2 separate regions of the Homo sapiens genome follow, and region 1 is linked to region 2. The links are contacts of gene promoters, found by promoter capture Hi-C in human tissues and cell types (Jung and others, 2019). All regions are on one chromosome and are shown on one strand. Each heading gives the region's core, a stretch centred on a gene start or on the middle of the fragment in contact. The rest is flanking DNA. Distances are from core to core; before and after follow the strand shown. Region 1 holds the start of SERPIND1 (serpin family D member 1). Region 2 holds the start of ZNF74 (zinc finger protein 74).

Region 1 (5,262 bases), core at 1,017-3,516, 380 kb before region 2:
TTTACACACGGGAAAACAGTTTCTAGAAACGATTTCTTTTTATTTTTATTTTGAGACGGCGGGGTCTCACTCTGTCACCCAGGCTGGAGTGCAGTGGCACAATATTGGTTCACTGCCACCTGTTCCTCTCAGGCTCAAGAGACCCTCCCACCTCAGCCTTTTGAAGTAGCTGGGACCACAGGTGTGTGCCACCAAACCCAGTTAATTTTTTGTGTTTTTGGTAAAGATGGGGTTTTACCATGTTGCCCAGACAGGTCTCAAACTCCTGAGCTCAGGCAATTCTCCTGCCTTGGCCTCCCAAAGTGCTGGAATTACAGGTATGAGTTACCATGCTCAGCCTCTAGAAATGATTTCTAATGTATGTAGCTGCAAATAGAACTGGGCCCAGTTTCTGAATGGCACTTTGAGTAACTTAGCTTCATCCTCCCAGCATTTTACATATCAGGAGACTGTGTATCAATAGCAACACACTTTTAAAAGTCAGGAACAAAGAAAGTAAGCAGCTGGTAGAAGGCTCCTTGCCCAACTACACTTCAAGTGTCCTCCTCTTATCACTTCTTGGCCTTTTGGCTAAGATCAAGAAGAAGAAGACCAGGCATAGGGGCTCACACCTGTAATCTTAGCATCTTGGGAGGCCAAGGCAGGAGGATCGCTTGAGCCCAGGAGTTCAAGACCAGCTGGAGCAACATAGCAAGACCTCATCTCTATTTTAAAAAAGAAAGCCAAAAGAAGAAGGAACAAAGGGGGAAAATGTTTTCTTCTCAGATAAAAATAAGGTTAAAGAACAAAACAAAAACCAACTTGAATAAATAAGCATTCAGGAAAACGTATCTGAGGCCAGATAGAGTGGCAGAGTAAAGACATGCATGTTTTATCCCGGTATTCAGAAGTTATATTTGGAAACTTCTTATACCCTGTTCCCACATTATCTGATAAAAAGCCAAAAATAGTTTTCGTCATTCCCTTACCAGAGGAAGGAGAAAATATCTCTGATATCTTTTATGGATTGAAATTAAAGATCTGAAGGTAAATCTTCCTGATGTTTTGCTATTTAGTATAACAAACATTGTAGAAGACGTTTAAAAACTATCACTAGGTTGTGATTAAATCCAGATTACTGTTTGAAGAGAAACAATATATTTTAAAGATAAATCATTCAAAAGTTTGTTTTGCTTTTTTTTTTTCCTGGGAACTTCATATTGTGCTTTCTTGCTAATTGCCAGAGCTGGGTTGGCCTTTTCAGTCACGCATCAGAGCATAACACTTGATAAACCGTCATCCCTCCTGGTGTATGGTCTCCAGGCCCAACAGAGCAGGCAGAATGGGAGAGAAGTAACTGCCTAAAGTTTGGAAAACTTTTTATTTTGAAGTAAGTTCAAACTTCCAAAAATGTTGAAAGAATAGTGTAGTAGAACAACTCCTGTATACCCGTACCGAGATTTACCAGGTTTAAAATTTTGGAACCTTTGCCCTGTCATTATCTGTGTGTGTGTGTACGTACGTGTGTGTTCTCACAGGCATGCACATACACATTTTTTCTTCTAGACCATTTGAGAGTAGGTCTCCTATATCTTGTTCCTCTAACATTTTTTCTTTTTTCTTCTTTTTTTTTTTTTTTTTGACGGAGTCTAACTCTGTTGTCCAGGCTGGAGTGCAGTGGCACGATCTCCGCTCACTGCAACCTCTGCCTCCCGGGTTTAAGCGATTCTCCTGCCTCAGCCTCCTGAGTAGCTGGGATTACAGGCGCGTGCCACCACGCCCAGCTAATTTTTGTATTTTTAGTAGAGACTTGGCTTCACCATGTTGGTCAGGCTGGTCTTGAACTCCTGACCTCGTGATCCACCCGCCTCGGCCTCCCAAAGTGTTGGGATTACAGGCGTGAGCCACTGCACCCGGCCCCTCTAACCTTTAATACTAATACTTCAGGGAAAATACCCAAGAGCAAGGATATTCTCATACATAATCACAGGACAGTTATCCAATTCGATTAATTTAATATAAGTACAATATTTTCATCTATTCCACAGCTCCTATTCTAAGTTTGTCAACTCTCCCAACAATGGAACTGACACAATTTTATAATAGGCACACTGAAAAATGAAACCATTTCCCACTTCTAAAACAGTGTAGAAAGCTTCTGAATTCTTAGTTTGCTAGAAAAATGAACCAGTTGCCTATCCGTAAACACCAAAAATAATTTATAATCAGCAGAAACATTAGAAACCCAACTTACCTCTGTGTTTCTGAGAAGTGGCGCTTCAGAGATGAAAGCAGCCAAGGTCATCAGTGGGATTTTGATGTGAACTTTGGTGCTGGGCTGTTGCTGCATATTTTCCAAAGTAAATAAGTCCCAATCCAAACACCAGGCAACCAGCTTGGTCAGCACAAACCCCCTCAGCTGTGCCTTTGATAACTGTAGAGTGGCTTGCAGCTCCTCATCTCCAGTTCTTAGAGCTGACACTTTGAGTATATGACGGTTACTGTGTTAGCATGCACACATAGCCTTGGTGCAGGAGCAGCCCCTCTTGAGGTCACCACATAAACAAGGCGCTCTTCAGGCCTCTGGGGACCAGGCTGCATTGAGGGTAGCTGAAAGTAGAGACCATGCATCTGCCTCCAACTGTGTCCTCTCTTCTGGGATGATCACAGCATCTGCCCTCCACCTGCTCTCCAGGACTGATGTGGCTGGCTCAGCTACTAGGCGGGTGTCCCTGTCCTTCCAAGAGCTCGTTCCTCAGTGAAAGGTGGAGGAGAGAGGACAAAATTAGTGGCTTACAGAATAAGGGGATTGTGGCATGGACCTTTCTTCAGTCAAGGGTTGCTGTGTTTGTTGCCAGTAGGTGCAGCCCAGCACTCCTGTCTGTTGTGGGACAGATAGGACTATTACTGAGCAGTGCCTCCCAAATTCAGGGCCACTTAGGCATTCGTGGGGATCTCTGAGGCTGTGATACATTTTGTGTTTATGGGTGTTTGTTTGTTTGTTTGTTTGTTTTGAGACAGAGTTTCGCGCTGCTGCCCATGCTGGAGTGCAGTGGTGCGATCTCAGCTCACTGCAACCTCTGTCTCCCAAGTTCAAGCGTTCTCCTGCCTCAGCCTCCTGAGTGGCTGAGATTACAGGCGCACACCACCATGTCCAACTAATTTTTTGTATTTTTAGTAGAGACGGGGTTTCACTATGTTGGCCAGGCTGGTGTTGAACTCCTGGAGTGAAGTGATCCTCCCGTCTCGGCCTCCCAAAGTGCTGGGATTACATGCGTGAGCCACCACGCCTGGCCCTATGTGTTTTTTGAGACAGGGTCTCACTCTGTTACCCAGGCTGGAGTGCAGTGGCGTGATCTTGGCTCACTGCAGCCTCAACCTCCCGAGCTGAAGCAATCCTCCTCACCTCAGCCCTGCAAGTAGCTGGGAATACAGGTGCACACCACCATGTCTAGCTAACTTTTGACTTTTTTGTAGAGACAGGGTCTCACTATGTTGCCTAGGCTGGTCTTGAACTCTTGGGCTCAAGTGATCCTCCTGCTTCAGCCTTGCAAAGTGCTGGGATTACAGGCATGAGTCACTGTGCCCGGCCTTATGATAATTTGTTTTTTAATTTGTGTTTTAAATTTTATGATCTAAAAAGTTTTAAGAATATTCTGGATTGTCTGGAAGATCAGCTTATCACAGAGACTGCTCCTCAAGAGCATGTTTGGGAGTGTCGGCACCCAGAGTCTATCTGAAGAGAGAATGTGACTCCTAGGAGAATCTGCGGGTGTGCAAGGGGCCCATGGGGGTGTCTGTGCATTGCTCCGTTTGAGAAATTCCAGAGTGTAAAGGTCCATTGTGTTCAGGACACAGACCGGTGGTTGTGTCTGAGTCTGATTTTGCACTCTAGCTTTTGTCAGAGCTGTCTTCTTAGAGCCTTCATCTGTCACATACAATACTGAGTCTTCAGCGTGGCACCACAGGCAGAGGCTGCTGTCTGTGCCCACACTCCTCGTGGGCCCACCTCCCTCATTCTCTGTCTTGTTCTCACACATGCAAAGCCCGGCCCCAGCACAGCCCTGGCACTTGCTATTCTTTCTGCCCAGGACACCATCCCTGCAGACCAGCAGGTGGCCGCTGCTCTCACTGTTCGCTCTTGGTTTCACCGAGGCGTCACCAGCCACCCTGGCTGAAATTGCCCCTTGGCCTCCAGCTCTCAGTATTCTGCTCTCTGAAATGAGGGTGACAGTTACACCTACTGCATGAGGTTGTTGTGAAAATTAAATGAGATACATTAATTTATCTCATTAATTAAATGAGAAAATTAAATGAGGTTAATGAATGTGTGGAAAGCACATAGAGTGGTGCCTGGCATTCAGAAAATGTTAGTCCTCATCATTTCATGGTATTACATATTTATTCACAGAAATGGTCTGGGAGGGGACACAGCATTCATTTTTCATTCTATGTACTTCTTTGTTTGACCTTTTTCTATGTGTATGTATTACTTTTGTTATTTTTAAAGCCAGTACCGGCCAGGTGTGGTGGCTCACACCTGTAATCCCAGCACTTTGAGAGGCCAAGGCGGGTGGATCACTTGAGGTCAGGAGTTCAAGACCAGCCTGACCAACATGGTAAAACCCCGTCCCTACTAAAAATACAAAAATTAGCTGGGTGTGGTGGCACACATCTGTAGTCCCAGCTACTCGGGAGGCTGAGGCAGGACAATCGCTTGAACCTGGGAGGTGAAGGTTGCAGTGAGCCGAGTTCATGCCACTGTACTCCAGCCTGGGTGACAGAGTGAGACTCTGTCTAAATAAATAAATAAATAAATAAATAAATAAATAAAGCCAACATATTTCCTGTCTATTTGGATTTCTGATCATGTAACCCACTATTGGAAAAATTTGATTTCAGTCCCTCTTGACATTGACATTTTTCAGTCATTTTCCCATTTAGTGGTAACAGCTTGTGTATGGCTTTTTTTTTTTTGAGACAGAGTCTCGCTCTGTCGCCCAGGCTGGAGTGCAGTGGCGCAATCTCAGCTCACTGCAAGCTCCGCCTCCTGGGTTCACGCCATTCTCCTGCCTCAGCCTCCCTAGTAGCTGGGACTACAGGTGCCCACCACCACGTCTGGCTAATGTTTTGTATTTTTAGTAGAGACGGGTTTCACCATGCTGGCCAGGCTGGTCTTGAACTCCTAACCTCATGATCCGCCCGCATCGGCCTCCCAAAGTGCTGGGATTACAGGCGTGAGCCACCACAGCTTGTGTATGGCTTTAACCCCACTGTAGAGCA
Region 2 (4,941 bases), core at 26-2,525:
CACTCACCTTGGACCTGGCTTCGGGAAGACCCCAACCCGATATATCCTCGAGATTCTCTTTCAGGGAAAGAGCAGGATCCTGAGAGGAAAGAGCTGGCGAAGGAGAAATGAGTCAAGGTCACGGCTACCAGGCTCACGGCTGAGCTTAAAGCCCACCTGTCGTGGCACAAGTGAGAATCAGAGAGGAGGCAGAACCTGCCAGCAAGGCCAGGTGGGGAACGAGCCCCAGTAGCTAGCACCAACAGAAACAGCATCGAGGAATAATCTGCCTGTGTCTCAGACACTCCAATTCATGACGAAAAGAGCTGCTACCCCCAATCAAGCACGTCTGAGTGGGAACAAATGATTGGGCGCGGGGAAGAAAGAAGCAGGAGGCCAGGAGCGATGGCTCACGCCTGTAATCCCAGCACTTTGGGAGGCCGAGGCGGGCGGATCGCTTGAGCTTAAGACCAGCCTGGGAAACATGGCAAAACCCCGTCTCTACTAAAAATACAAACATTAGCCGGGCGTGGTGGCGCGCGCCTGCAATCCCAACTACTTGGGAGGTTGAGGCGGGAGAATAGTTTGAACCCGGGAAGCAGAGGTTGCAGTGAGCGGAGATCAAGCCATTGCACCACTCCCGCCTGGGTGACAGAGTGAGATTCCATTTAAAAAAAAAAAAAAAGATGCTGGATGCTTCTGGGAAACTGGCCTGATCTCTCTGAGTGTCAATATCCTCAAGTGCAAATCCACAGACATACTGACTACAAGAGTGAAGCTGTACCTGTCTTCTCGGGCTCCGGGGCAGGGATCTCCATGGCCTCCACGGCAGCCTCCCCAGGAGGAGTGGGCAGCTGTGTAGCCTCCAGGATCCAGGGCAGGCCCTGAAGAGCGAGTACTGCTCCTGGGGCTGAGGGGCCTGCAGCGGAGCCCCGCGGGGCGGCCACGCGCTCACAGCTGCACGATCACACGCACGGAGCCCCCTCCCCGCGCCCGGCTGAGGTGGGGTTCAGGCCGGCTCCGCAGATACCCACTCCCCACACCAGGCTCAGCCCCATGCTCGGCGCACTCACGCCCCGGCACACCCCCGCCACACGCTCCTCCCGGCGAACCCGCGCTCGGAGACCAGGGCCAGGCCTAAGGTTCCGCGGCCAGGAGCCATCGGACGCGGAGCGACCAGCGGACAGGTCCCGAAGCGGACAGAGACCGCCGACGGTCTGAGGGACCGGCAAGTGGACAGACCGGACTCCCACAAAAGGACTGCGACTGCCACAAAGAGCAGCAGGCGGCCGCTGCGGGAAAGCGCGCCTGCGCGAAATAGGCGCAAACTACACCTCCCGGGAGCGTTTGCGCCGCGCAGGCGTCAGACTCCATTTCCTAGAGCGAGTTCGGGCCGGTGCTTGCGTCCCGACGCGAACGAGTATCTAGCACATCCTTCTAGGAAATGTAGTTCCTGGGCCCACAGCCGGGAGCTCCGGCACCCACCATGCTCTTGCGGGCGGATGTCGCTGTGTATCTCCGTGTGCGGATCAGTGTAGTGCCGCTGCATGGGTGTCTAATTGCGAGGATACTGGGAGGGCGGTGTCCAGGAACTAGAATTTGTCCTGTTAGTTCGTCCACGTCCCCACGTAGCTGGGAGTCGGGTGGGTTCCTGCCCACATCTGTCTGCAGGAAAGACTCAAGCCCCTGGTCTTACGGATATTGGGAGTGGTGGGTCTGGCCTCGAGGGGTTTTCCAGGGGCCCTGCCCCCACTCCCCCTTCTCGAGCCACATATCTGAGGCCCATGGGCGCGGGTCCCCAGAGGTGGGAGAGCCTTGGCCTAGTCCCCCCAGAGGGTCCTGTCCACAGTTCACCCCTGGGGCGGGAAAGGAAGGTCTGGGTGGCGGCCCAGTCCTGGCGGCACAGAGCTCTGCCATGAACACAGTGATGACGCCAGCGACAGAAACATTGAATATGTACTGAGCACCAACCAAACGCCAGGCCTACTTCAAGAGCTTGGAGTACATTTTTCTGGCAGAATGCTCACAGCAGTCCAGGGAGGTTTGCTAACTACTGTCATCCCATTTGGGAGATGAGGAAGTTGTGGTACAGGTGCGTGGGGTAACGTGTCGCAAATCACACAGCCAGAAGTAGGAATCCAGCACCGAAGTGCATTGCCACATTCCTACTGAGAGGTGGTCCGGGGTGGTGCACACTCCAAACCCTTCAGCCTCCCACCTTAACCGCAGCTTAGGCTTGGCCACAGGCTCTCACGTGACACCTGTCCACTGCCCACATCAGCACAGCTGTGCCCAGACCTCCCCTGCCCAGGGCAGCGCCCGTGTTTGATTTTGTTTTGAGACTGGGTCTCACTCTGTCGCCCAGGCTGGAGTGCAGTTGCACAATCACGGCTCACCGTAGCCTCAGTCTCTCGGGCTCAAACTATTCTCCCACCTCAGCCTCCGGAGTAGCTGGGACTTACAGACATGCACCACCACGCCCGGTTAATTTTTATATTCAGCGCCCATTTTTAATAGCAACCCAGTGAGAGGGGACAGCGTGCTGGCAGTCCTCACAGCCCTTGCTCGCTCTCGGCGCCTAGTCGGCCTTGGCGCCCACTCTGGCCGCGCTTGAGGAGCCCTTCAGCCCACCGCTGCACTGTGGGAGCCCCTTCCTGGGCTGGCTGCGGCCGGAGCCGGCTCCCTCAGCTTGCCGAGAGGTGTGGAGGGAGAGGCGCGGGCGGGAACCGGGACTGCGCGCAGCGCTTGCGGGCCAGCACGAGTTCCGGGTGGGCGTGGGCTCAGCGGGCCCCGCACTCGGAGCTGCCAGCCGGACCCGGGCAGTGAGGGGCTTAGCACCTGGGCCAGCAGCTGCTGTGCTCGACTTCTCGCCGGGCCTTCGTTGCCTCCCCGCGGGGCAGGGCTCGGGACCTGCAGCCCGCCATGCCTGAGCCTACCCACCGCCGTGGGCTCCTGCGCGGCCCAAGCCTCCCCGACAAGCGCCGCCCCCTGCTCCACGGCGCCCAGTCCCATCGACCACCCAAGGGCTGAGGAGTGCGGGCGCACGGCGCGGGACTGGAAGGCAGCTCCACCTGCGGCCCCGGTGCGGGATCCACTGGGTGAAGCCAGCTGGGCTTCTGAGTCTGGTGGGGACTTGGAGAACCTTTATGTCTAGCTAAGGGATTGTAAATACACCAGTGGGCACTCTGTGTCTAGCTTAAGGTTTGTAAACACACCAATCAGCACCCTGTGTCTAGCTCAGGGTTTGTGAATGCATCAATCGACACTGTATCTAGCTACTCTGCTGGGGACTTGGAGAACCTTTATGTCTAGCTAAGGGGTTGAAAATACACCAATCGGCACTCTGTATCTAGCTCAAGGTTTGTAAACACACCAATCAGCACTCTGTGTCTAGCTCAGGGTTTGTGAATGCATCAATCAACACTGTATCTAGCTACTCTGGTGGGGACTTGGAGAACCTTTATGTCTAGCTAAGGGATTGTAAATACACCAATTGGCACTCTGTATCTAGCCCAAGGTTTGTAAATGCACCAATCAGCACTCTGTGTCTAGCTCAGGGTTTGTGAATGCACCAGTGGACACTCTGTATCTAGCTAATCTAGTGGGGACGTGGAGAACTTTTGTGTCTAGCTCTTTGGGTCCACGCTGCCTTTATGAGCTGTTAACACTGCGAAGGTCTGTAGCTTCACTTCTGAAGCTAGCGAGACCACGAACGCACCAGAAGGAAGAAACTCCGCGCACGCTGCGTTTAAGAACTGTGACACTCACCACGAGGGTCTGTGGCTTCATTCTTGAAGTCAGTGAAACCAAGAACCCACCAATTCTGGACACACCAGGACAAGAGCCTTGGTGGGGTATAGAACTGTTGATTACACAGTGCATGAGTCTATGTGTAAGTTTGTGTATGTGTTTGTTTCTCTGTGTATCTTACAGGTGTAGGTGTGGGTCCGCTTTTGCCTCACATTTCTTATGTGTTTCTGTCCTGGTGTGCCTCTGTGAAACAATGTGTACGTGCACCTGTGCACAGGTGACTCTATGAGTGTGTATGTGGGCACTGTCTCAACAGTTCTGGAGTCTGGATACGTGTTTGTGTGCAGGCTTGTGTACATGGGACAGGAACCTGTACATGGGAGTGGAACTTGTGTGCACGGTGTGCTTGCTGATGAGTCTAATGTGATTATCTGTTGGCATCTGGCTGTTGACTAACAGGTCAGGTCTGAGTCTTTCTTTTTTTGTTTTTGAGATGGAGTCGCGCTCTGTTGTCCAGGCTGGAGTGCAGTGGCGCAATCTCAGCTCACTGCAATCTCTGCCTTCTGAGTAGCTGGGACTACAGGTGCCCGCCATCACACCCGGCTAATTTTTTTGTAATTTTAGTAGAGATGGGGTTTCACCATGTTAGCCAGGATGGTCTCAATCTCTTGACCTCGTGATCCACCCGCCTCGACCTCCCAAAGTGCTAGGATTACAGGCCTGAGCCACCATGCCTGGCTGGGTCTGAGTCTTTCTGTATAAGTGCACATGTGTATGTGTGTGTGTGCCTCACTGTTTACACAGATCTGAATGTATGACTGGCATATCTGTGCATGTAACTCTGCAGTTCATCTCTGTAGATTGTGGATGTATCATCTATGTCTGCTTGCCTGAGTGTGTTCTGTGTGATAGTGAGTAGATGCCTTACGCCAGTGACTATGGACGGCGTCTTGTTCAGGTGAATTTGTAGACCTGTGTGTGTGTGTGGTTCTCTCAAAGTTCTAGTTTGTTGTGAGATGGTATGCACCTCTTTTCATTTGTGGGGCTGTAGACCTCGCAGGTCCAGTTGTGGCTGTGTGTGTGCCTGCATGTGTTCTTCTGTATGCCACTCTGTGTTGACTTCCAGGGCTCATCAGTGTCAGTACGTGCATCCTTGTGTACATGTGTATGTCACTGTGGGCCTCATGGATCCCCTGTGTCTGTAGGAAAGCC

Evidence for each region. Contacts are between HindIII fragments. The study calls those that stand out against the background at their distance.
Region 1: the fragment with the promoter of SERPIND1 here is called in contact with the fragment with the promoter of ZNF74 in region 2 in 3 of the 25 tissues and cell types used here (heart right ventricle, lymphoblastoid cells and mesenchymal stem cells).

The regions. Positions count from the first base shown.
Region 1 is chr22:20,771,117-20,776,378 of GRCh38, reverse strand. It overlaps SERPIND1 (serpin family D member 1), which reads right to left and starts at 2,266. Exons shown (of 5, transcript NM_000185.4): 1 at 2,234-2,266. All of the region lies in intron 19 of PI4KA (phosphatidylinositol 4-kinase alpha), which reads left to right. The HindIII fragment of the contact is 14,489 bases long and covers 748-5,262 here.
Region 2 is chr22:20,390,485-20,395,425 of GRCh38, reverse strand. ZNF74 (zinc finger protein 74) reads right to left here and starts at 1,275. Exons shown (of 5, transcript NM_003426.4): 1 at 764-1,275; 2 at 8-93. The coding sequence starts at 797. RefSeq lists enhancers at 1,095-1,234, 1,705-1,774, 1,176-2,165. The HindIII fragment of the contact is 17,508 bases long and covers 1-4,941 here.